Linked DNA regions of Homo sapiens: region 1 is linked to region 2. Evidence: promoter capture Hi-C in human tissues and cell types (Jung and others, 2019). All regions are on one chromosome and are shown on one strand. The core of a region is centred on a gene start or on the middle of the fragment in contact, and the rest is flanking DNA. Distances in the headings are between cores, read along the strand shown.

What was found. Contacts are between HindIII fragments. The study calls those that stand out against the background at their distance.
Region 1: a fragment that was not itself captured here is called in contact with the fragment with the promoter of GAL3ST1 in region 2 in 2 of the 25 tissues and cell types used here (lymphoblastoid cells and spleen).

What each region holds. Positions count from the first base shown.
Region 1 is chr22:30,933,324-30,936,557 of GRCh38, reverse strand. MORC2 (MORC family CW-type zinc finger 2) reads left to right here. Exons shown (of 26, transcript NM_001303256.3): 17 at 1-47; 18 at 1,236-1,310; 19 at 1,397-1,777; 20 at 2,367-2,498; 21 at 3,038-3,092. Among named protein-coding and RNA genes, the nearest start is that of MORC2-AS1, 13 kb to the right of the region's middle. The HindIII fragment of the contact is 4,500 bases long and covers 1-3,234 here.
Region 2 is chr22:30,573,053-30,576,078 of GRCh38, reverse strand. GAL3ST1 (galactose-3-O-sulfotransferase 1) reads left to right here and starts at 1,414. Exons shown (of 4, transcript NM_001318104.2): 1 at 1,414-1,613. RefSeq lists enhancers at 1,494-2,174, 2,175-2,856. The HindIII fragment of the contact is 15,540 bases long and covers 1-3,026 here.

The DNA.
Region 1 (3,234 bases), core at 229-2,728, 360 kb before region 2:
TGACAGAGAAAATTCGCCAGCAGCAGGAGAAGCTGGAGGCCCTTCAGGTACGTGGGTCATGGTCAGTGGGCAAAGCCAGCCTGTGTCAGGGCTCTGCCTGTGACAGGAACCTTCAGTAGCTTTCCTGTTCCCTCAGGCTCAGTTTTACCCTCCACTCACCCGCGTTGTTTGCCAAAGCTTTCCAACCCCAACCTCCAGGTCCACGTGTACTATTTGCCAACAGTGTTATTTTAAGAATAACACCTTGCTTATTCTTAAGAAAAAATGCTTATATACTTCAAAGTGGTCCAATTCATTTAGAATGTATAAAACTCTAGAAAATAAAAATTCTGCCTTAGAGGTAACCATCATTAACCATACATCCTTCCAACTTGTCATGAACTCATGAATACCTACACATAACACACATATATTTTTTAATAGAAATAGGGAGATAATGCCATGTATATGTTTTATATTAATACATACACATACACATAATTGTTTTGATGACTTTCTAGAAGTGAAATTAAAGGACTTAAAAGGTCCATTGTAAAATTCTATGGCTTTTTGCAACTATTTCTAAAGTACCCTCCAGAGATGTGTTAATTTCTATTATTTACCAGCAGTATATGAGAGCATTATTTTTAAATGTTGTTGCAAATTTCATAGGCAAAGATGCATGTTTTATAATTTAATTTCCTTAATATTTCTAAGATTGCATAATTTTTCATGTGTCCACTTTTATTCCTTTTAAACTGCTTATTCACTTACATTTTTATTTTTTCTATGTTTTTTTCTAGATATGTCTGTGATATCATCTGTTTATCATATTTAGTACACAACCATTTCCCTTTTTGGCTTCTGTGTCTGTGCAGATGTGCTCTCACTAACCCATGATGTTTTATATGCCTCCCTAGCTGCTAAATCCCACCTTTCCTTTCTGGCTTCATCCAGGTTTTCCCTATCCTTCGGGCCCTTTCTACCTTTTTGGGTTCCTTTTATAGGAATTTAGTCTATTGACACTTTTTGCCAGTCTCTCAGTTGCTGGATTAATCACACAGTTTCCTGTAATTTGCTGATAGTTGAGTATTTATGTATTTTGTGTCTCCCCAATGAGAACAGGAGGTTTGTAAGAGTAGGACTATGGCTCAGGTTTTCTATTTTTTTTGTCCCTGGTTCCAGACACTATCCAAAAAGTTTGCTCAAGTATACTAAAATATGCAAACAACTTCATCATGATGTTTGCCTTGCAGAAAACCACACCCATCCGCTCCCAAGCAGACCTGAAGAAATTGCCCTTGGAAGTGACCACCAGACCTTCCACTGAGGTGAAGTCCAGGGGCCTGGGAAGGGCTTTTCCTCAGGTGTCTCATGCTAGGATCAGTGTTCTCACTCTCTGTGGGCCTTTTTTTAGGAACCTGTGCGTAGACCTCAGCGTCCTCGGTCGCCCCCTTTACCTGCTGTGATCAGGAACGCCCCCAGCAGACCCCCTTCTTTGCCAACTCCTAGACCAGCCAGCCAGCCCCGAAAGGCTCCTGTCATCAGCAGTACCCCAAAGCTCCCTGCTTTGGCAGCCCGGGAGGAGGCCAGCACATCTAGGCTGCTCCAGCCACCTGAGGCACCCCGAAAGCCTGCCAACACTCTCGTCAAGACTGCATCCCGACCTGCCCCTCTGGTGCAGCAACTGTCACCATCTTTACTGCCCAACTCCAAGAGCCCTCGGGAGGTTCCTTCTCCCAAAGTCATCAAGACTCCAGTGGTGAAGAAGACAGAGTCACCCATCAAACTCTCCCCGGTGAGACGCTTGTCCTCTTTAATACCCCAGCCCAGTGTCAGTAGTGTAGGAATGGAATTGTGCAGTGTCACAGCTGTACTGGGGGAGCCTTCGGAAGATACTGAATCTAAAGCTTTGCTGCTGCCCCTGAGGACGGGAAGCCTTGATAGCTGAACGGACTTGTTGGGGCCAGACAGCACATCGGTTGCCTGTACAGCGAGCTCTTCACTGTTGCCTCCGAGTTTTGGTCTGCCACAAACTTGAGTCACCTCCACTGGCTCTCGAAGTGTGGGCTTAGGTCAGTCATCTGGTGACAGATAGCCTGAGTGGGCTGCGGCAGTGGTCGGTGGTTCTTGGGGAGGTGACAGCTAGTTGGCCAGGTAGACTAAGGTGGGAAGGGAATTGAGAAGCTTCTCCTATGATAGCTTTGAGCAAAAATCCTTATGGCGCAGGGGCCAGTGGGTTGCCTGTGTACATTCCAAGTAATGTCAGGCAGGGATTGCAGGGAGTACAGCTCCTCTTGGAACGACTCCTTTAGGCTAGATGAAATCTTCCTGCTCCTTAGAGGCTGAACAGGGCCCCTCACATCCTCACGCTCCTCTTGCTCTAGGCTACCCCTAGTCGGAAGCGGAGTGTCGCAGTTTCTGATGAGGAAGAAGTTGAGGAGGAAGCTGAGAGGAGGAAGGAGAGGTGCAAGCGGGGCAGATTTGTTGTGAAGGAGGAAAAGAAGGACTCGAATGAGGTGAGTGGTTGAGGTGAGGTTCTCAAAGCCTCTCTCTCTAGGGCCTGCAGCCCCCACCAGCAGTCTGCACCCCCCATCAGCAGTCTATACCATCCACCAGCAGTCTACACAACCCACCAGCAGTCTACCCCCCCCACCAGCAGTCTGCACCAACTCTGTTTATATTCGTGTCATGAGCCTTCCAGAAGCCTAGTGATCTCTCAAGGACTCTCAGTTACACAAGTGACTAAACATGGTGCCAGGTAGGGTCTTGAGTGAGACTGGCTTCTGGCTTAACCACAGGCCTGAAGTCACACAGACGTACATCAGTGAGGCTTGAAACACATGTCCCTTGCCTGCTGTCTTGTTCGTAAAGGTAGCAGAAGGGTAGGTACCTTGGACAGTGATTTTGGAGTGTGGCTCTCAACGGGGCTTGGTGATTTAAACTGTAGCACAGGAAGTCGTGAAGATGATGGCTGATGACCCCGGGTGGCCAGTAAGGCACAAGTCTGCTCTTGGGGGGCACTGGGGATGCCTCTAATAGACTGCTCTCCACGCAGCTCTCAGACAGTGCTGGGGAAGAGGACTCGGCTGACCTCAAGAGAGCTCAGAAAGGTGAGCTGGGGGAGTGACTTGGCAGCCTGTGGCGGGGGTGGGAGTGGGAGTGGAAGTGGAGCCCCTTACCAGCAGCAATTTACCAAAGGCTCATTGAATCTGTCCTGGGTCTGGGCTCTTGTGCAGCAGTGGATCCAAGTCT
Region 2 (3,026 bases), core at 165-2,664:
GTGAGGCCTGCCTGACAGCTTCCCCGCTGACCTTGGCAGTGTCCCTGCTGACGCCCATTGGGATATGCCTTTGCCTGGAACCGCCAGTGCATCATGATGGAGCCAGGACCACAACCTGGGTCTCCCAGTGCTCACTCAGCCCCTCCCAGGACTCACTTCCCGGGGTGAGTGCTGTCGAGGGTTGGGGCCACGCTGAGGAAGTGTGGGTTTGGAATGGCTCTACTTTCCCTGAATCTAGGCACCTGAGGGCCTTGCCCTCTGCCTCTCACTGTTTGCTGGCTGTGTGGGCAGAGAATGTTTTTGTGGCAGTGGATGTAGGTCCAACCTGTGCAGGGGGAAGGCAAGAGCTTGGGCAGGCTCTGGCCTGGGGAGCAGAAAACCTAGGGCTCCCCCTCTCAGCTGGGACTGGCTGTGGGTGGAAGGAGAGGGCTGTGTGCCATTCCCACTCTGTCATGCACACGGCGATGGGAGGGAGTGAGGTTGCCTCCAGAGGCTGGGACAGAGGGTCAGGACCTCTGGAGCCAGAGCCTGCAGCCCCGGGAGACAACTCAGGCCTGTCTGGGGAACTGTGCATCCAGGGCCACACGGCTAGAGCGCAGGCCCATCAGATACGGAAAAATTCCTGGCAGCCATGCTGATGTGGAATTTTCCCCATTCCAGAATCGCCCAGTAATGGCGGGGGCAGTGGGGCTCTGACGCATCCCAGGCCCCACTGGGTGGCCAGCTGGTTCCTTACTGCCCACAGCTGGCGCTGAGGATTCCTGGCCCCTGGCAGGCATTGGTCCTCATCCATGGTCTTGCTCCTCTGGGGTGAAGAAGGAAAGGCCAGGCCTGGAAAATGAGACAGGGCCTGGATGGGACACCTGCCTCCTGGTGGCCTTGCTCAGCCCTCATTGGCACCCTAGAGAGTGACAGCTGAGACCTCCAGGTGACAGGACCAGTTGGAGCTCAGTCTCTTGCTTGAGCTCCCTCCACTCCCATGAGTGCCAAAAATGTGTCGTCCCCAGTTGGCACTGACTAGAGCAAGAAGCCGTATGATCCATTGGATCCTAAGGGCCCCAGGACCCCCCAACCAAAGTTAAGCAATAGTCCGTCCGCCGCCTTTTTCCCAGAGCCCTGGCTCCCCTCCCCACCACCACCAAGCCTGGGCATCCTCAAGTCTTCTGGGCTGGGGGCTCCGTTGAGCCAGAGGACCGGGGCGGGACAATGGCCCCGTTGGCGCGTCCGAGACAAACGGGCCTTGTTGGGCCGGCGGCGGGGGCGCAGCGTTGCGCCCCAGCGCGCTGAATGCGGCTTCTGTGCGTCTCGGGCGGGCGCAGAGGGGCCGGGATGGGGCGGGGAGGGGGCCGGCCCGGGGCGGGGAGGGGTCTGGGGTCCGGGGCGTCCATTGGCCCCGGCGCCGGAGGCTGGGCCAGGCTGGCGGCGGCACCTGGCCGGGAGCGGGCGCGGCGCGGGAGCGGGCGCGGCGCGGCAGCGGCGGCGGGGGCGGGGGCATGGACCAGGCCTGGTGGAGCGGGGGGCCCGGCCGGGTGCGCCCCGCCGCCCAGTGAGCGCCCGGGCGGCGCGGCCCGGGCCGAGCCAGCCACGCTGAGGCGGAGGAGGACGGGGACAAGGTACGTCCCGGGCTCCAGCACCCACTGCCAGCTTGAGCCCTGCCTCAGTCTACTCCCTGGGGATACCGCCCACATTACGCTAACCCCCAAACTGGGACCACGCGCCGGAGGAGGGGAGTAGGAGTGCAGTACCGCTGTTCTAAGCGCTGGGTACCCCTGCCCACTGCCAGAGGGTGGCCTGGTAGGGGCCAGGGAGGGCACAGGTTGGTGCCCCCCATGCCCTTGGTTTTTTCCCCTGTCCCCCAACCCCCCTTCCAGGGCTTCCCAGTCCCTGAAGGTGGGATGGGTGGGGCAGAAGGCAGGCTGCTGGGGCTGAGCTGGAGCTGGGAGTGCGTTAATGATTAATCTTGGACACAGTGGCCAGAGCCCTAGGGGAGGAGGGGCAGAGATCTCCCCTGTCTCCATCAGCCCTTCCTAGAAAGGGGATCAGAGCAGGAACCGGAGACCATAGTAAGGGATGGATCCCCTCTGCTGGGGGAAGGCCCTGGCCTGTACCCCAGAGGAAGCAAAGCCACCAAGGAGAGGTTTGGGAGAGTGGGACAAACCCTGGCATCCAGGAGGGGTCCTATAGGAAATCCTACAGTTCCTGTTTCCTAGCCCAGTGCCCAGGAAGGGGGTCCAGCTTGATCTGCCCCTTCGGTGCCAGGCCAGCATTTTGGTACCAGCACAGAGCACACTACAGACCGAGCCCTGCCCAGTGGGAACTGCCCCGCCCAGCTGCCCAGAGCCAGAGAGGTGATGGGCATGTCTGGCTGCTGTAACCCACACCAGGGGGAAGGAAAGGGAGAGAAGGCAGCATGCCTGACACCTGATCCCCGGGCTGCCGCGGTGACAGGTGCATGAGAATCCTCCAGAGGGGAGAGAGGTGTAGAGGACTGTCCATTCCAGTTGGGAAAACCCAATCTCTTCCTTTACTGACGGGGTGACCTGAGGCCCAGAGAGGGTGAGGCTCATCCAGGCCCACACAGGGGGCACAGGAGGGCAGTCCTGGACCAGAGCAGTCACTGTGTACGCACTGTTCCTTGTCCTGTGAAGGAGGCATTGCTACCTATCCCCATTATCCAGAGGGGGATACTGAGGCTCAGGGAAATTCAATGACTTGTCCAAGGTCACATGGCTCAGAGGTAGCTGAGCTGACTCCAAATCATAGGAGTCTTGCCCTGGCCCCCATTTCAGGACCCCAGCCCAACCCATGACCTCTCTCTGCTCCTTTGGGGTCCTGCCTTCTTGGATCTGCCTGGGCTGCCCCAAACCCTCAGCTCTGGACACCCCCCCTCGCCTCCCTGGCTCCCAGCTCCGCCTGACACTTCAGCGGGTGAGCAGGCTGCTACCCCGGGAGCCGAGACAACGAAGCCCTGTTCCCAGCTGCCACCTCAGCCTGCTTTATTCCCTGCTTGCTCAGGCAGAGCCCTT